Regions from separate parts of the Homo sapiens genome. Here all the other regions are linked to region 6. The links are contacts of gene promoters, found by promoter capture Hi-C in blood cells and fetal thymus (Javierre and others, 2016). All regions are on one chromosome and are shown on one strand. The core of a region is centred on a gene start or on the middle of the fragment in contact, and the rest is flanking DNA. Distances in the headings are between cores, read along the strand shown.

The links. The method cuts DNA at HindIII sites, captures the fragments that hold promoters and counts their contacts. A CHiCAGO score of 5 or more calls a contact.
Region 1: a fragment that was not itself captured here is called in contact with the fragment with the promoter of CLEC14A in region 6 in 2 of 17 cell types (neutrophils and naive CD4 T cells); the score reaches 11.7 in neutrophils.
Region 2: a fragment that was not itself captured here is called in contact with the fragment with the promoter of CLEC14A in region 6 in 2 of 17 cell types (neutrophils and naive CD8 T cells); the score reaches 6.0 in neutrophils.
Region 3: a contact is called between a fragment that was not itself captured here and the fragment with the promoter of CLEC14A in region 6, in 1 of 17 cell types (endothelial precursors). The highest score is 5.2, in endothelial precursors.
Region 4: a fragment that was not itself captured here is called in contact with the fragment with the promoter of CLEC14A in region 6 in 2 of 17 cell types (neutrophils and naive CD4 T cells); the score reaches 12.8 in neutrophils.
Region 5: a fragment that was not itself captured here is called in contact with the fragment with the promoter of CLEC14A in region 6 in 1 of 17 cell types (endothelial precursors); the score reaches 6.2 in endothelial precursors.

The regions. Positions count from the first base shown.
Region 1 is chr14:37,977,024-37,980,127 of GRCh38, reverse strand. No RefSeq gene overlaps it. Among named protein-coding and RNA genes, the nearest start is that of LINC00517, 76 kb to the right of the region's middle. The HindIII fragment of the contact is 8,676 bases long and covers 1-3,104 here.
Region 2 is chr14:37,995,015-37,998,197 of GRCh38, reverse strand. No RefSeq gene overlaps it. Among named protein-coding and RNA genes, the nearest start is that of LINC00517, 94 kb to the right of the region's middle. RefSeq lists an enhancer at 2,807-3,183. The HindIII fragment of the contact is 2,739 bases long and covers 66-2,804 here.
Region 3 is chr14:38,536,236-38,539,688 of GRCh38, reverse strand. No RefSeq gene overlaps it. Among named protein-coding and RNA genes, the nearest start is that of CLEC14A, 280 kb to the right of the region's middle. RefSeq lists an enhancer at 2,545-3,046. The HindIII fragment of the contact is 1,240 bases long and covers 729-1,968 here.
Region 4 is chr14:37,960,645-37,964,122 of GRCh38, reverse strand. No RefSeq gene overlaps it. Among named protein-coding and RNA genes, the nearest start is that of LINC00517, 60 kb to the right of the region's middle. The HindIII fragment of the contact is 1,688 bases long and covers 1,119-2,806 here.
Region 5 is chr14:38,567,083-38,570,063 of GRCh38, reverse strand. No RefSeq gene overlaps it. Among named protein-coding and RNA genes, the nearest start is that of CLEC14A, 310 kb to the right of the region's middle. The HindIII fragment of the contact is 2,774 bases long and covers 193-2,966 here.
Region 6 is chr14:38,254,639-38,257,708 of GRCh38, reverse strand. CLEC14A (C-type lectin domain containing 14A) reads left to right here and starts at 1,616. Exons shown (of 1, transcript NM_175060.3): 1 at 1,616-3,070. The coding sequence starts at 1,687. LOC112268136 (a long non-coding RNA gene) reads right to left here and starts at 1,664. Exons shown (of 5, transcript NR_169588.1): 1 at 1,264-1,664. RefSeq lists an enhancer at 1,807-2,434. The HindIII fragment of the contact is 4,914 bases long and covers 1-3,070 here.

The DNA of each region.
Region 1 (3,104 bases), core at 416-2,915, 280 kb after region 6:
AAGAGCTAAAAGCAGAACTACCATTCAGCCCAGCAATCCTATTATTGGGTATATACCCAGAGGAATATAAATTACTCTACCATAAAGACACATGCACATGAATGTTCATTGTAGTCTCCTCATTTTCAGGAGCTTTCTGTTTGTTCCCTACTATGAACAACACTGAAAATAGCTAGTTATCTTTTGTATCTCTTCCTCTTCCTCTCCCCTAACATCAAATTTTAAGTAACATTTTACTTTATTACCAATAAGCCCACCAGAGAGTTTATATTATATTTTATAAATGTGCCCCATTCCTCTCCTGCCATTTTTCAGAGTCATTTTTATCTACAGTGTCAGAACACAGTTGTCATGTACTATACTGTTTCCCTTACATCTGTCATTTAGCCTCAGTTTTACAAGTAAATGTATATTCAGTGCTCATAGATAAATAGTCAATACTTTGTAGTCACTTTTGTTGTTTGAAGATTTCTCAGGAAGGAATGTTAGAAACAATATCCTCTTGAGCATGTTCATAAGAGCACCTTTATGCTTGACAGTCAGTTTGACAGGATATAAAACTTACATTTTTTTTTTACTTTAGTAGGTGTTACTATTTTAGCATAAACCATTGCTGTTTAAAAAAAAAAAAAAAGTTGTTTTAACTATGACTTTTTTCCTCTTATAAGTGACCTGAATGTTTCACCTGAAAACTCAGTTTGTTTTTTTCTTCGAATTCTTTTTTTTTTTTTTTGAGACCAAATCTCGCTGTCACCCAGGCTGAAGTGCAGTGGTGTGATCTTGGCTCACTGCAACCTCCATATCCCCAATCCAGCAATTCTTCTGCCTCAGCCTCCCGAGTAACTGGAACTACAGCTGCGCCACCATGCCCAGCTAATTTTTGTGTTTTTAGTAGAGACAGGGTTTCACCATCTTGGCCAGGCTGGCCTCAAACTCCTGACCTTGTGATCCACCCACCTTGGCCTCCCAAAGTGCTGGGATTAGAGATGTGAGACACCGCACCTGGCCAAAAACTTTAAGTTTTTTTTCTTTTTCTGATTCGCCTACTTGGTTTATTAGAATATGTGTCAGTGTCAGCTGTTCTGAGACAATTTTCTTATAAACATAGAGTTGCTTCAAGACCTTTTTTACTTCAGGAAACTATTCTTGAAACATAGCTCTTAGTATTATTTTGTCACATTGCTTTTCTTTGTGGGGACTCAAATATATTATATATTTTTGTCTACCTTATATACCTGTAACTTTCTTTGAAGTCATTTTATTTTTGTTTTCAAATGTTTAATCTTTTCTATTTTTCTGCTTTCCATTATCTATTGGTCTCATAGTATCCACGCTGTTATCTGCAATTCCTTCTAAGTAGTGTCTAGTTCTAAAATGGGTTTTTTCCCCTTTGTTATATTTTTAGTGTGGCCAGTTCTCCTTTCAAATCTTCCTTTCATCCAATCATTTTGTCACTTAGTTTTTCTAATTTATGATGTTCTTCATAGTTTCTAAAAATATTTATATTTCTTTGAGATGGTTTTTGAAACACTAGTTAATGGTTTTTACCTGATTGCTATAAAAATGTTGCTCTGCTTCCATATTCTCTTTATCTTGTAATGAATCTGTGTGGGATGTGACTCATGTCTTCTGCTGTGGCTTCATCTTTAAGTGAGATGGGTCCCCCTGTCCTTTTAGGTGTTTCTATGTGCTAGGTCAGTGGGGGCTTAGGGTGACTTTCATGCCTTCATGACTCTAGGGCTTTCTTTTGTGTTGCTGTTAAGAATGTCAGCAAATAGGTTCTCATACTCACTGCTCCTCTGTCCCTTTTCCTTATTCTTTTCCTAGATTTTGTCTTTCCTCTGCTCCTAGAACCCATGCACTGCTCAATCTGGATCCTACTCCCAACAGTTGGTCTTCAGCGAAGGTCTATGTCCAGAAAGGACACTTTTGTCTGTTAATTTTGAGAGTTCCTAGGACCCGAAACTCCCCATAACTTCTTAAGCATGTATCCTTCCTTTAGCCCCCTCACACTCGCTGGGACATTAGTACAACAAAGCCCCCTCCCAGTTTTTGATACTGTTCTCAGAAAAGCCAGTTGCACTCCCCTCATTGAAAGGGAGCCTGTTTATTTTTGACTTTGTTGGCTCTCCCTCTGCCTACCCCACTTTCTCCAACACAGTTGTTTAGACAGCATCCTTCTTGTTGCTATTATTGGTTTGCTTTTTGTATTTTTGAATTCATGGGGTATCTCACTCCTCTTATTTTTGTAGAGGTTTCCATATTTTTTGTTATTGGTGGTGGTAGTAGTGGTTTTGTTATCTACCTTTATTGCCCACTTTTGAGTGGAATTCAAGGAGATTTAAAAGCTATGTCATTACCCTTTTGCCTTCTCTCTTATTATTTCAACTTCACAGAGCAATTTTTAAATTAATTTATTTAATATATTTATTAATATATTAGTTTAATACAATCATTTAATAAAAACTTATTTAATAAGAATTAATTTAATTATCACCTATGTATTACTCATATCTTTTACAAGACATCAAACTCCAAAAATAGAAACATCCCAGAACTACAATGAGATAGCATTTCACACTCATTAGGATAGCTACTATTATTTAAAAAAAGAGAAAAGAAAGATAATAGAAAAAAATAGTGTTGGTGAAGATGTGGAGAAATTGGAACTCTTGAGCACTGTTGGTAGAAATGTAACATGATGCAGCTGCTATTGAAAACAATATAGTAGTTCCTCAATAAATTTAAAATAGGATTCCCATATTATCCAGCAACTCCACTTCTGGGAATTGAAAGCCACATCTCAAAGAGGTATTTATACACCCATGACCATAGAAGTTATATTCACCGTGTCTAAAAGGTAGAAGAAAGCAAGTGTCCATCAATGCATGAATGGATAAACAAAATGTGGAATACACAAATAACGAAATACGTTTCCACTTCAAAAAGGAAGGACATTCTGACACATGCTACAACATGAATGAATCTTGAGGACATCGTGCAGACTAAAATAAGCCAGTCACAAAAAGACAAGTACTGTATGATTTCACTTATACAAAGAACCTAGATTAAACAAATTCAAAAAAACAGAATGAGGAATGGTG
Region 2 (3,183 bases), core at 186-2,685, 260 kb after region 6:
GCTGTAAATGGAAGTAGCGCTAGTGACTATGTCATAGGAGTGGTGCAAAAATTAAATGTAAAGCTTTAGAAGAGTGTGTGGGATATGGAAGGCATGATATGTGTTTGATATCATGGTGATAATGATGACAACAGTGATGACGATGATGATGATTCCCTTCCTAATTGGAAAGCACTTTCCTCGAACACTTTAGTGATATAAAAAGACAAATTATTGCTTTTTAATATTAGGCCATGGTGTAGATTGTATTATTGGCCTCAATTCGTCACCTCCTCTTTGTATCCATGTCTTGGATATTTTGGCTAATGGAATGACGTGTTGGAAGTGACATTGCGTCCATTCCACATCTAGGCCTTAAGATGTGTTGCATGCCCCCTTGCAGCTTGACACTGCCATGACAAGAACATGCATCAGGGAGTCTGCTGGTCCAAGGAGATTAAAAGATTACATGAAACAGACCAGTAGACCTGGAGCATAAGTATGTGTTTATTGTTAATGTCATTGGGATTCTGTAATTCTTTTTTACATAGCAATAGCTAACTCAGCCATAATGCAAATAATTGTGAAAATAATAGAAATAAGCAACAAACATAAAATAAACCATGGCTGTAAATGCAAAATTTTGTATAGCTGCAGTCCTGTGTATATGTATGTGTGCATACCAAAACTTATAAAAGTGTTATTTTTAGAAGTACAAAGTGGTCAATTACATATATATATATATATATATATATATATATTCTCTAGCATGTGCATTGTGACTAGTATTTAAAATACATCCTCCTATCATGTTAGGAGAGTTCCCTAAAATTAAGTAAGAAAGATTTTCAAAGAAGATAGTGCATAGATAGCACTCAATGCATATTTGCTGAAAAAGTTATTAAATAAAGACACGAAAAATCAAACAACACTCTGTATTTGCATCCTATTTGACGCATCTCTTCTTGCTCCTGCTCCAGCAATGTAAAAATATGCCTGCTTCCCCTTTGCCTTCTGCCATAATTTTACACTTTGCCTTCTGCCATGTTTGTAAGCATAGAAGCAGAAGCCGCTATTCTTCCTGTACACCCTCCAGAATCATGAGCCAATGAATCCCCTTTTCTTTATAAATTACCCTGTCTCAGGTATTTCTTTATAGCAGTGCAAGAACAGACTAATACAGATGCTAACATAAGGTAATGACTTTCACCACAAGTGAGGTATAAACTCAAGCAAAGCAGCCAGTGTGGTCTGGATGGCTGTGACCTGTGCCCCTGGCCTTCAGGAAGCCAGAGAAAGCCACAGAGCTCCAGAGGCCCTGGCTCTGTGATAGCATCACCTTCAACTACAAGAATTTCACTTTTATACAACCCCAGACTTTTGGAAACTCATTAAGAGTAATAAACGTCAGTTTTCTTTCACAAAATGTATTTGTAGTTTGTGGATATTCCCAAAATCAATACCCTGTGGTAATAATGGTGGACAACAACTCAGTTAATAGAACTTCAGGTTTCTTTATGTCTAACAGTCTTTATGTCTGAAATTAGTGATATCATCCCATTCTCTAGATCCATATCTAATAAATGTACTAAATAAAAACATATTATTCCGCTTCTCTAAACCATTGTGTCGTGCTTTCATCACACAGTTCCCTCATTGAAGTACATGTCTGTGTGTTTACCAAATCTCAGCAGCCCTCATGTTGCTTAGCTTAAATGAATAGTCTCAGGCTGAAATTTGTTGCTTAAAATCATAGGCTGACTCTTTAATTTTTAGTTGCATGAAGAGATTTGCTCTTGTGAAAAGAGCAGCTATTGTCATAATGCTTTCTCTCAATCAGTGTAAAGTGCATCCATTTTAGTAACCATGGTTATTTCCAAAATTGTATCAATTTGAATTAGATGCATTTTTCCTTTGTTAAGGAAAAGGAACTTAGGAGCATTCAGTCCCATGTGCACATTTCATTTTAACCTAACAATGCCTATTTTCAAAATAAGCATTGATGTATTATACTTTTCACCTCATAATCTGCCACTTGCTTTTCTCTCCTAAAATGTAAAAACCAAATCAGTTCAAAACTCTGTTTCAATTAGGCAGGCCTTAATGTAGACTATATTCTTTCAGTAATAATGATATACGTTCATCCATTATAACAAATGTACCACTGTGGTGAAGGATGTTGGTAACATAAGAGTCTATGCATGTGTGGGGGGAGTGGATACATGGAAATTTCTAAAACTTCCTCTCAATTTTGCTGTGAACCTAAAACTACTCTGAAAATTAAAGTCTACTTTAAAATTTTAAAAGGTCCTCTAACTGCACAAAATCCATTTGTTACTTGAAACCTATGAACTGCTTCTTAGGTCATGTTTCGGAACTTTGTGAGGGCCTCAAGGGCAAGGACTATATTTTACTCAGTTGTGTGTTTGTGTGACGTTATAAGTTGAATTGTGTCCCCAAAAATTCATATGTTGAAATCCTAACTCCTAGTAACCTCAGAATGTGACCTTATTTAGAAACAGGGTCATTGCAGATGTAATTAGTTAAAATAAAGTTATTCTGGAGTAGGTTAGGCCTATAAGGATACCTAATCCAATAGAACTGTTGTAATTTCTTAGAACAAAGGGCTATTTGGACACATACACACACACAGGGAAAATTTCATGTGGAAATTAAGTTGTGGGCACCAAGGCCCCCTAAAGGTTTGCTGAAAAAATCACTGACATGAGGCAGATTGATTAATAAGAGAAAAGGCACATGAATTTAACGGTATACATGGGAGCTTTCAGAATCAAGACTCAATTCCCCAACAAGTTACAGAAGCTTATATATTATTTTGAGAATATAGACAGAATGAGAAAAAGCATGGCCAAAAACCCAAAACCAGGTTCTGTTGGTAAACCAGGTTTTAGTGGCAAGACATGTTATGGGAGGGAGAAAGGAAGAGGCTTGTCCAGCGAAGGTGGTCTTGTTATGTAGATGAAGCCTCACAGGTAGTAGCCCTCAGGTAGAATAGTTGGAAAACATTTTTTTCAGGCCTTAAAAGGTGTCATCGTCTCAGTTAATCTTTCCTAGATCCTGGGAAGGCCTAGAAAGGGAAGCCTTGGCTGCATTAACGAGTGTTTCTACAGATGCAAATTTCCCCCACAAAAGACAGCATTGCAGGGCAATTTCAGTCAGCTGGTACTGTGGCAGCCATTTTGA
Region 3 (3,453 bases), core at 99-2,598, 280 kb before region 6:
CCATTAACTTTTATAGCATCTAAAATTTAAAGGGAACTCTCCAGTTATTGATACATAGCTAAATAAATTGTGAACTTTCCTTGATGCATAAGATAAATTCTGGTGCAGAGTGAGCAAACAAGGTAAGCAGTACCTCTAATCAAATTAATAATACTTATTCTATTTGCTGTGCAGTGTAAGGATAACTCTTATCTTCCACTTTATTTCTCATTTTCTGTGATTTGAGAAATTACCATCAGATATTCCATATCCTGTGTAATTTGACTCATTGGAACCCAGGGACTTGAGCTTCATTATTATCTCTCAAACATAATAGGTGGAAAGAGCATTAAGCCAGGAGTCAGGATGCCAGAGTTCTGTCCAAATATTGTCAAGGACTTACTTATGACTTTGAGCAAGGCACCTAAAATATTGGTTCCTTATCTGTTATGAAAAACATAAAACTGTATGATTTTTTGAGGCTCCTTCTAATATCAAAATTCTACCTCAGTTTTTGGTTTTCCTTTAACTGTATTTATTCTTTCCAGTTTGACAATTATTCTTTGTGATGCTGTAAAGGGAAGCAAAATAGTTTAATATCTCTATTTCATTTCTGTCATCAGTTAAGTTTTACATCTTTTTAAGATTTAGGCCAAGCTCTACTTATTTTTTTCTCTTTGCTCTAAGCTTAGCTTTAACAAACAAGAAAGGTCTTTTTGGTGGCTTTCTGATTTTTTTTTTGCTAAGCTTTGCTTGCAAGGTTTATGAATCAGACAGAACCAGGGCTTGAATCGCAGCTCTGACTTATGCTTGTTGTGTGAAGTAGGCAAGTCTATCAATTTATCTAAAATTCAATTTTCTCATTTATTAAACTGTGATAATAGTAGAGTCTGCTTCATGGCATTGTTGTGGGGATTACATGAAAAATGACATGAAGTGCTTAGTGCAAATGCCTTGGCACAAAGAAAGCCCTAAAGAAATGTTTTTCTTATTTTTACATTGTGCTGCCATCATCATCATTATCATCATTGTCATTATTACTCTGGAATTTATTTTTGAAAACGATTACTTTTTTATCACTTTCTATTAAAAATCAATAACTATGATATCTCATACATGTAGATAATTTTATAGTTTACAAGGTATTTCTACATGCCAAAGCTGGTCTTTGCAATAATGCTCTGAGTTGAAAAATATTCATATCTCCACACCACAAGAGAGTCTCAGAGAGGTGTAGTAACTTGTCCATGGGACTAACACGGAGAGCTTGGTCTCCTTGTTTACTTCCTGTGATGGTTAATATTGATTGTCAACTCGATTGGATTGAAGGATGCAAAGCATTGTTCCTGGGTGTGTCTGTGAGGGTGGTGCCAAAGGAGATTAACATTTGAGTCAGTGGACTGGGAGAGGCAGACTCACCCTCAATCTGGGTGGGCACAGTCTAATCAGTTGCCAGTGCAGCTAGGATAAAAGCAGGCAGAAGAACGTGGAAGGACTTGACTTGCTGAGTCTTCCATTCCTCATCTTCCTCCCCTGCTGGATGCTTCCTGCCTTTGAACATCGGACTCCAAGTTCTTCAGCTTTGGGACTCTTGGGCTTACACCAGTGCTTTGTCAGGGGCTCTTGGGCCTTCGGCCACAGACTGAAGGCTGCACTGTTGGCTCCCCTACTTTTGAGGTTTTGGGACTCGGACTGGCTTCCTTGCTCCTCAGCTTGCAGACGGCCTATTGTGGGACTTCACCTTGTGATCGTGTGAGTCAATACTCCTTAATAAACTACCCTTCATATGTATGTCTATCCTTTTATTTTGCCATTGCTTTTAATGGCAAAAACAGCAATTACTTTTGCATCAACCTATAGTTCTGTCCCTCTAGAGAACTCTGATTAATTAACTTCCCCAATCCCGTAGTGCATAGTACAGGACACACATCAGGTGGTTTTGTGACAGCATTGTCTGTGATGAGCATCAGCACTAGAAAAATAAAAGCTTCCTTAGAAAAAACTTTATGTTGTGAGAGAATACTGGTATTTTATTATAGAGTGTACATTTGTTGAAATAGAAAAAATATAAGTTTTTTTTTCTTCTGTTACATTGGCTCATAAGTAGAGTTTTTTTTCTTCAAAATTTACTTTTAATTTTGAATAGCATACATATGATACATATTAAAAAGATAGTGTCCAATGCGAGATTCTAGGAGGTTCAGGAGGGTTCCTGAGGTAATAGTTGCGGAGGGGAGTCGTGGTCATAGGGCATGAAAAAGGCCTCAAATTGTGCCTGGGTACATTTGCTGGAGAAGGACACAGACAGACTGGCATGGAAAGTCACACACACTCTCATTTGTTGCACTTCTCTCCTTATTAATCTTCCTCAAATAAAGAGGAAAACAATTGTTTTTGCCTTCTAGGGCACATTTCTGCAAGAAAGTTTGCACCAATTTGAAGAAAAATGGAAAAAGAAGGACAATGCAATGAATTTTTCATAATGCTCCTTTTATGCTAAGATTTAAAAAAAATTCTTAGTTAATAACTTCCTGTTTTGTTGTTGTTGTTGTTTAAAAATGATCTTTTCCTGAAATGATGACAGTTTGCTAACTAGATTTGCTAAAATCTGGTAAATATGGATTGGCTACCAACATTCTTTGACAATTTTATTAGTTCTTGGAATCCAAAACACTGAGGCCTGAGACATCCAAGTGGAGACACAGCTAAGGCCGGGATTATCTGTGTGGTGTTGGAGGCCCTTCGCAAGTGCTTAACAGAGCCCCTCCACTGGCTGCTGCACCCTCTGAGTAAACATCCATCAGACTGAGTGAATGGAATGCAATTTAGATGAGTTCCTTCTGAAAAGCTGTCAGAGAGACTGTGAAATGTGACTACTTTGATTGACTCTCCTACTTTCTCTCTCCCCAAATAAGCCAGATTGGCAGGATTCAAAGGAGACATAAAATTAGTTATTATTGGCTGATTCAGCAATAAAGCCAGGAAGCAAGATCTGCTAAGTGGAAAGTATTCTGGGACTAGGAATGAGAAATTATGATTATAAGGCAAGGCTTAACTAGCTGAGGAAGTTTCTCCATGCCGGCAGCTGATAAACTGCTTTGTAACTGGATAAAATGTTGGTCTTAGTCAGGCTCCATTGCCACAGACACTTTCAGACAGATAGCCATGTGGGTGAGCAGACAGCATTCAGCCAGGACTCATGCATGCACCCGTGGTACAAGAATTTGCCAAATAGTTCCTGAGGCATCAGCTATTAGAGAATAATTCAATGATAATTTATCCTTAATAACACAGTACAACTTCCATTACATATTTATTTCAGACTTAAAGTCAATTAAATTATCTGAAAATGATTTCTGGGTTCATCTCTTTCATTTCCTTATTGCACTGCAGCTATGACAGCCTAAACCTCTCATCCATCAGGTTTATTCCAAAGTCCTACAGAATGAACAATTGGACATTTTTCTTAATACC
Region 4 (3,478 bases), core at 713-3,212, 290 kb after region 6:
GAGAGCTAAATGATGAGCACACATGGACACATAGAGGGGAAAAACACACACTGGGGCTTATCAGAAGGTGGATGGTAGGAGGATGGAGAGGTTCAGAAAAATTAACTAATGGCTACTAGGCTTAATACTTGAGTGAGGAAATAATCTGTACAACAACAAACCCACAAGTTTACCTATACAACAAACCTGCACATGTGCCCCTGAGCTTAGAGTTGAAAACATATGTTTTGAAAAGATAATTTAATTACATGGCCTAATTTTATGTGCTGGGTATGGTAGCTCCCAGATGTAATCCTAGAGCTTTAGGAGGTTAGGTGGAAGGATCACTTGAGCTAAGGAGTTCAAGATTACTCCAGCCTGGGTGAGAGAGCGAGACCTTGTCTAAAAGAAAAAAAAAAAGCAAGAAAGAAAATAAAAGATGAGAAAAGAAAATTAAAAAAAAAAGACAGATGGAAACAGTATGCCCCAAATGACCTAGATATTGTGGGAAAATCAAAGAAAAAGACACATTCACATGAAGATACATGGATAATAGAATGAATAAAAATGTACCAAAGTCTTAATAGTAGTTATCTTTGGGTAGTGATTTTATAGGTGGTGCTCATTTTCTTTTACATATTTTTCTGAGTATCCTACATTTCCTAAAATGAGATTATGTTATTTTCTACTTTAAAACATGATCTAACCATCACAACTTAACAAAGTATAGATTTTAGAGAAAAGTACACAAAATACAATTTGGCTAAGCATAAAAAATGATTAAATTGAGACACATGATGTTTTCCTAAAATAATTTAGAGTGTTTATTTTGTCGGCTTATTCAAAATTGAAACCTCAAAAAGAAATGTAGGATTCTTGATTCCTCGGTACTTTGATGAACTTGAAGATGTGGTTTGAAATCACTATCTTCTTAAAAATGGATAGATATCGACCATCTGTTGCCTGTTTAGAAACAAATGTACCATTACCAGGAGAATTTTCTAAGAAAATAGGTGGAGTTTCATGCTTTCTTTTAAGATCCCGGAAGCCCTGCTCTTGGTTTGATTTAATTTAGGACAAAATAGGGTCTTCCATTTTGCTTCAATATGAGTTATATGGACCACTTGTTTCCGAAAGCTTTGGAGGGTGGGGAGGAGAGGTAAGGAGAGAGGAAAGGAAGGAGAGAATAAAATAAAGAAGGAAAGAAGAGTGCTTTTTGTTTGGGATGGGACAGTTATGTCAAATACAATTGCACACCCACACCAGCTTTGATAACTTGGTAATGACTGTTTTTGCTGAGAAGAATTCTGAGGTTGCATCTGATGTAGCTGGAAAGTATGGTATTATCAATGAATGATGTCTGTGTAAGTGTGCAAGGGAAGGTACTTGTCATATCTGAAGTCTGGGATAGGACCGGCAATAGGACAGACAATGTATCATCAGTCTAGTAGTTTTGCTGTCAATATATTATGTGACTTCCATGTAGAAACTTCATTCAAGTTTCTGTCAGCCTATTATTGATTAAAAGCATAATGTTTTGCTTTTAAATCAAGTATGTTCATCTATTGTGATTTGAAAAAAATACTACTGCTACTACCCTCAGGTTTTTAAGAAGAAATAGTGTATTTAGTAAGTTATTACTGTTCAGAATGAAATCTAGAAATATTAGTGACATGGTTTGGTTCTATGTCCCCAAATCTCATGTCGAATTGTAATTCCCAGTGTTGGGGGAGGTACCTGGTTAGAGGTGATTAGATCATGGGGGCAGATTTCCCCCTTGCTGTCTCATGATAGTGAGTGAGTTCTCATGAGATCTGGTTGTTTAAGCTGTGTAGCGCTTCCTGCTTTGTTCTCTCTCTCTCCTGCTGCCATGTGATTATGTGCCTGCTTCCCCTTTTCCCTTCCACCATTGCTATAAGTTTCCTGAGGCCCCCCAGGCCATGCCTTCAGTACAACCTGTGGAACTGTGAGTCAATTGAACCTCTTTTCTTTACAAATTACCCAGCCTCAGGTAGTTCTTCATAGCAGTGTGAAAATGGACTAATACAATTAGCATACAAATTTAAGTCATGACAGGGTCCCCAATATTTTACAGTGTGGACCATAGGGTAGCTGATCAGAATCAGAAGGGGGCTTCTTGACACTGCAGTTTTCCTGGGTCCCACCCTCTATATTCTCAATAAAAATCACTGGGGACTAGGATCTAGAAATCTACATTTTTAACCGGTACACCAACTGATTCTTATGCACCCAAATTTGAGACCCACTGACCTAAACTTCTGAGAGAAATTTGCCATTCACTCCACAGTGCTTTCTCAACTGCCCTACCACCTCCACCATTACTCTTGCTAAAAACAAAACAGTGCCCAGATTATTCTCTATTCCAAACCTAATTTTCTAGATCAACCTCTGAGAAACAAGTATACTCCCTCCTAACTCTGAATATTAACAATCCTCCCAGAAGACACCGTTAGCATGCTCCAAAAAATTTTGGAAAACGCTGCTGGCAGCTTTAATTAAAATTATGAGTTCCTCTACTCTTGCATTCTCACTAATATGATCTATAGCCTTTTGGAAGTTGAGGCATCTTTCATAATAAATGTGAAAATGACCTCAGCAGCATTTCCATTATGATGGACATGAATTATGACTTATGATTTTTTTCAAATCTGATTTTAAGCATAGTATCAGTAGGAGTAGCAGCCTAGTGGATAATGACTGACTGCATAAAATGCTTTCCCTATATCAAGCCCTGTATACTTTATGTACAAATATCCTTGGACTTGCATTGTGTATGTCTAAATTATATTTAGGCTCCACTGAAGCTTAAACCATTTCTTTCACATAGTTACCATAGTGCTTTACCCCAAGCAAGCACATATTCTTCATATTTTGCACCCCCACCCCCTTATTCCCAGGCAGCAAAATATGGATTTGAAGGAAGCCTTTCACTTTATGGGGTCTTATTTGAAATATAAAGAATTTTAAATGACCTCATGTCAGCAAATCCAAAAGATCTCTAAAAAGAATATTATCAATTAAGATGATTTATGACATTGACTAATCTTGGCCAAGGTAGAAAAACACATCTAATGAGAAATGCCTCCTAGAGTGCAGTTGCCATAACAGCAGGTGCATCAGGCTTTAATACTGTGCTGACTCTTCCTTCCATTGTAAACCCTGGAAATTTACTACTGGCCATGGCACTGCATGCAGTTGTGGCCCTTTGACAAAAAGAAAAATTGTATTTAAAGTTTTGAACCTATACTAGCTCTAGTAAAAAGACAGATGGCTCCATAAAATATGCAATAAAAGCGGTCTCTAGGGTTTTTTGAAAGTAAAAAATATGAGAATTCATTGTGGTGCCATTTGGCCTCTGAGGTTGTGAGTCTGTCAGCATTTCAAGTCCTAACTTCTGCATTTTAAAATTCTGTATGGACAATAGTAGTGTCCTACATCATTGAAAAAAAGTTCTCTCCAGAAAACTATCTTTTCCATA
Region 5 (2,981 bases), core at 330-2,829, 310 kb before region 6:
ATGTTTCAATATTGAATCTGCCCTACATCTTGGGTCCTCTTCAAACCTTTAACCATTTTTATTGTTGCTGGTCACTAGAATTCTGAGCCTCCTGAATGCAACCATGGAATAATCCTTGATTATTCCATGGAATATTTCTTATGGAAATATTTCACAGATCTTCTCTTTCTTCTTCCCTCCTCCTCCAAAGCTTTGTTCCTAAACAATCTCTTGCCTACCTACCTCCTTATCCTTCATGCTTCTCATAGTTATAATAATCTTTCTTTTGATAGTATCATTTTTTTTCTTAGAAGCTGAGGTGACTTCCAATTGCTTAATTCGATCAAATAGAGCTTTACTCTTATCCCCAAAACTTCTTCGATTGTCACCTAGGATCTCTGTCTCATCCCCACCTTCCACTCCAAGCTCACATACTATTCCCTCCAACCCTAAATTTGTATTCCTCTACTACTATCTACTAGTTTATAATTTCTACTGTGTAGTAGAAATGATATAGTAGAAATTAACAAAATTATTTATATTTCTTCAGCAAAGCAGAATTCACTGCCATATACAATTCACCAATATTTACTTGCAAATAATCATACTGATACACTATTTTGCAGTATTTATCACTCCTGTCCGTAAGAAAAGCATATTCCCTCTATCTTCTAAACCCCTGCTTAAAACACATTTCAGACAGGAATTTTGTTCATTTTAATGAACTCCCACCATTCCAGCAGCTTTTTGTGATGATCCACATGTAATTGATTGTTCAAGAGATGCCTTATTTAACAAAGTACAGTGTACAAGCATACATAAGATTATGATTGCTTTAATAAATTTGATTCACTACTAGATGCATTTAAATGTTGGGTTATATTTTCTGTAAGCTATAAGAGTTTAAACTAGAAAATAATATTTTCAAGGGTATGAAGTTGCTGTGTACTTATAAATCAATGATTATAAATAAATAAAATGAATTGATTCAAAGACATATGGAAGAATATAAACCTCAGTATAATTTAAAATATATAATAATTAATTTTTAACGTTCTTGGTATTATATGTTCTTTATAAAACTATTCTTGGATATTCATATTTGCCAAACACCTGCTGTAGGTAGTTTTAAAAAATCCTTCTGTAGATTCAGTCTATTCAGTACATTCAGGGATAATAGATTAAAATCACTGTGCCATTAGGTGACTTTCTGGCTTTAAGTTTACTGAGTGTATGCATTAACATAGACAGTACAGAAAACATTAAGAAGAGAGGTAGACTTGCTTCATCCTATAGGATTCAGGGAAAATTTCTAGTAGATGACACTTACAGTGAGTTTTGGAGGAAAAATGATGTTAGCTAGACAGTGGAGTGGGAGAGGTGAGCATTCCAAAAATAGCAAGAAACATATGTGCAGAGACCTGAATATGGAAAATCTGAAAAATTGCTAATATGCAGTACAGCTGGAGCAAAAGATGCATATGGGGTTATGGGGGTAGATATGGCCAGAAAGCTGGGCAATGGCCAGATCATGAAGAGCTTTGTAAACTGTACCAAGGATTTTGGCCTTTATTCTATAGACAATGGGATCTTGCTTGCAATATAGCTTCTATAGGCACATTACGGAAGAAAAAACTCAAACCCTTCTTCCTATATAATGGGCAAAGGCAATATTTAAAAAATTAACTCCAGCTTCCTCTTATAAGAAGAGTGTTGACAAATCAGAATCATAACTGACTTCAATTTTTTCTGAGTTCCTCAGATTTTGTTGCTTTGAAAAGTGCTTTTATCTTGTTTTCAAAGATCCAAAGCATAGAATTTTTACTTGCTTCTAGTAGCTATTTTTCCTTTCACAGATTGTTCCCGTCTTTGAATGTGCCTTTCGAAATGGTGTTTTCCAATTTGATTTTCAGGAGGAAGGCCCTGAGCATGAAAAACATGCATTTTTTTTTCTTAGAAGCAACTGAGCTTTCCTTCTTTCCTGATGCACACAGACAGTTTCAGAATGTGTCAACACTGAGAGTAATTTACAGTTATAAGTTTTTTTTTTTTTGATCTTTGGCAAGCCCTAGAGAGAAGAGGAGATTGATGGTGCATATCATTCCCAGCACCAGATTGGAGGAAAGATTTGTAACTATGATGAGTGTTTTAGTCCAAATTTGAGAGAAACTGGCACCTTTGGCTACATCTGTGCAGTGTAACAGGGAGGATTCAGAAAGCAGGAAGCCATTCTGACTGGTGGAAGATGGTATCTCATTACAGTTTTAATTTGCATCTCTCTGTTGATAGTGATATTTAGCATTTTTAAAAATGTTTCTTGGCTGCTTGTATGCCTTCCTTTGAAAAGTGTCTGTTCATGTCCTTTGCTCACTTTTTAATGGGATTATTTGTTTTTATCTTGTTGATTTATTTAAGTGTTTATAGATTCTGGATATTAGTCCTTTGCCAGATGCATAGGTTGCAAATATTTTCTCCCATTCCATAGGTTGTCTGTTTACTTCATTGATCATTTCTTTTGCTGTGTAGAAACTCTTTAGTTTAATGAAGTCCCATTTGTCTATTTTTGTTTTTGTTGCATTTGCTTTTGAGGTCTTAGTCATAAATTCTTTGCCTAGGCCAACGTCCAGAAGAGATTTTCCTAGGTTTTCTTCTAGGATTTTTATAGTTTGAGGTCATACATGGATTGAGTCTTTAGTTGATCTTGAGTTAATTTTTATATATGGTGAGAGGTAGGTGTCCAATTCCATTCTTCTGCATATGGCTAGCTAGTTTTCTTAGCACCATTTATTGAATAGGATATCCTTTCCTCCTGTTTATTTTTGTTGACTTTGTTGAAGACCAGTTGGTTGTAGATGTCTGGCTGTATTTCTGGATCCTCTACTCTGTTCCATTGGTTTATGGGTCAATTTCTGTACAAGTATAATGCTGCTTTGGCTACTATAACTGTGTGGTGTAGTTTGAAGTTGGATACTGTGATGCTTCAAGCTTTTTTCTTTTTTGTT
Region 6 (3,070 bases), core at 367-2,866:
GCAAAAGCAAGGTAAGTATGATGATGACTCATAGGCTTACTGTTGTTTGTTAAGATACATGGAATTTCCAGGAGGAAAGAAGAATGAGAGTTATGGTAAAAATAAGATGGAAGCATACAGATGTGATCCTGAAACCTTCCCTCCCACCCCTCATCAACCTGAATGCAGTAAAACAAAGTGAGCTTATATGCATTATCCATGGAATGGCAACTTTCATTCTGATTAAAGATATTTAAAAGCATCAGACATCTCTAAGAGGGCTTAGCTGAAACTCTCTATGTATTTCTGATGGCAACGTATTTGGCCATTATGAACCAAGATAGAATGTACGTTTTCTAAACTGATACTGAATTGTCTAAGTTGCTAACAAGAAATCCTTTCATAACAGTACAGTTTTTAACCTTTACTTCTTTATTCATCTTTAATTCCTTGCCACTTCCCACTGAGTTGAAATGTTTATATTAAAACAAAACACCCACTGGAATTCTAAAGAAATTGGCTCACCCATCTTTCAAATTACAAGATATTTTTTGACAGTATACAATATTCATTATAATGGAATAAACATTTTAATTTCTTAAGGAACTCTAATTTTCCTTAAAGGAGATGTTTACAACTTACTATTATAAATGCTGCCACTCAATCATAGGAGAAAATGATACTAAAATAGTTCAAGGCTAAAATCACACATAGGGCAGTTGTTCTCGAATATTTATAAGGCCACGAACTCATTTATGTATAACCTATAAACTTGAAGAATTTTTGAACCAATACAGTGGCAAGGAAAGCTAACAACCTAACTGTTAAGATCTATGGTCATTATTTTTCATTTAGTCCTAGAAATACATTTCCTTTCTGTAATGAATCAATATGGTCTAACTCAAAGAGAAACACGTGGAAGTGAAAAATAAATTTCTAAAGCAAGTGCTGATGGAAGAAGCAGAATTTCCCATTTAAAATACCCAAACAACTCCAAATTCTTTAGTAGTTAGGACTCCTGAAATCTCTTGACATAATAGAGAAGCAAAGACCCATAGAGAGATATGCGGTTAAATAGTGCTGCCTCTGGTGGCAAAAGCAGTTGCTAAGTTGTTTCACAACATATTTTTCCCCCACAGGCACAGGCCCCCCAAACACTGGAGCCGTCTACGAATTATTCTGACGCTAACTCCACAGCTCCGGACAGAAACACAATAGACGGGCGTGGTCTTATAATCATAAGCCAGTTCCTTTCTCAAGTCCTTCCTGCCTATGTTCGCTTACGTGTTATGGGTTCTGCGGTCCTGATGAAACTCCCTGAACGGAGAAAAACCACACACTTCATCCCAGTGGCGAATTTCTCCTCTTGCTCTAAGCAGGGTGTTTGACCTTCTAGTCGACTGCGTCCCCTGTACCCGGCGCCAGCTGTGTTCCTGACCCCAGAATAACTCAGGGCTGCACCGGGCCTGGCAGCGCTCCGCACACATTTCCTGTCGCGGCCTAAGGGAAACTGTTGGCCGCTGGGCCCGCGGGGGGATTCTTGGCAGTTGGGGGGTCCGTCGGGAGCGAGGGCGGAGGGGAAGGGAGGGGGAACCGGGTTGGGGAAGCCAGCTGTAGAGGGCGGTGACCGCGCTCCAGACACAGCTCTGCGTCCTCGAGCGGGACAGATCCAAGTTGGGAGCAGCTCTGCGTGCGGGGCCTCAGAGAATGAGGCCGGCGTTCGCCCTGTGCCTCCTCTGGCAGGCGCTCTGGCCCGGGCCGGGCGGCGGCGAACACCCCACTGCCGACCGTGCTGGCTGCTCGGCCTCGGGGGCCTGCTACAGCCTGCACCACGCTACCATGAAGCGGCAGGCGGCCGAGGAGGCCTGCATCCTGCGAGGTGGGGCGCTCAGCACCGTGCGTGCGGGCGCCGAGCTGCGCGCTGTGCTCGCGCTCCTGCGGGCAGGCCCAGGGCCCGGAGGGGGCTCCAAAGACCTGCTGTTCTGGGTCGCACTGGAGCGCAGGCGTTCCCACTGCACCCTGGAGAACGAGCCTTTGCGGGGTTTCTCCTGGCTGTCCTCCGACCCCGGCGGTCTCGAAAGCGACACGCTGCAGTGGGTGGAGGAGCCCCAACGCTCCTGCACCGCGCGGAGATGCGCGGTACTCCAGGCCACCGGTGGGGTCGAGCCCGCAGGCTGGAAGGAGATGCGATGCCACCTGCGCGCCAACGGCTACCTGTGCAAGTACCAGTTTGAGGTCTTGTGTCCTGCGCCGCGCCCCGGGGCCGCCTCTAACTTGAGCTATCGCGCGCCCTTCCAGCTGCACAGCGCCGCTCTGGACTTCAGTCCACCTGGGACCGAGGTGAGTGCGCTCTGCCGGGGACAGCTCCCGATCTCAGTTACTTGCATCGCGGACGAAATCGGCGCTCGCTGGGACAAACTCTCGGGCGATGTGTTGTGTCCCTGCCCCGGGAGGTACCTCCGTGCTGGCAAATGCGCAGAGCTCCCTAACTGCCTAGACGACTTGGGAGGCTTTGCCTGCGAATGTGCTACGGGCTTCGAGCTGGGGAAGGACGGCCGCTCTTGTGTGACCAGTGGGGAAGGACAGCCGACCCTTGGGGGGACCGGGGTGCCCACCAGGCGCCCGCCGGCCACTGCAACCAGCCCCGTGCCGCAGAGAACATGGCCAATCAGGGTCGACGAGAAGCTGGGAGAGACACCACTTGTCCCTGAACAAGACAATTCAGTAACATCTATTCCTGAGATTCCTCGATGGGGATCACAGAGCACGATGTCTACCCTTCAAATGTCCCTTCAAGCCGAGTCAAAGGCCACTATCACCCCATCAGGGAGCGTGATTTCCAAGTTTAATTCTACGACTTCCTCTGCCACTCCTCAGGCTTTCGACTCCTCCTCTGCCGTGGTCTTCATATTTGTGAGCACAGCAGTAGTAGTGTTGGTGATCTTGACCATGACAGTACTGGGGCTTGTCAAGCTCTGCTTTCACGAAAGCCCCTCTTCCCAGCCAAGGAAGGAGTCTATGGGCCCGCCGGGCCTGGAGAGTGATCCTGAGCCCGCTGCTTTGGGCTCCAGTTCTGCACATTGCACAAACA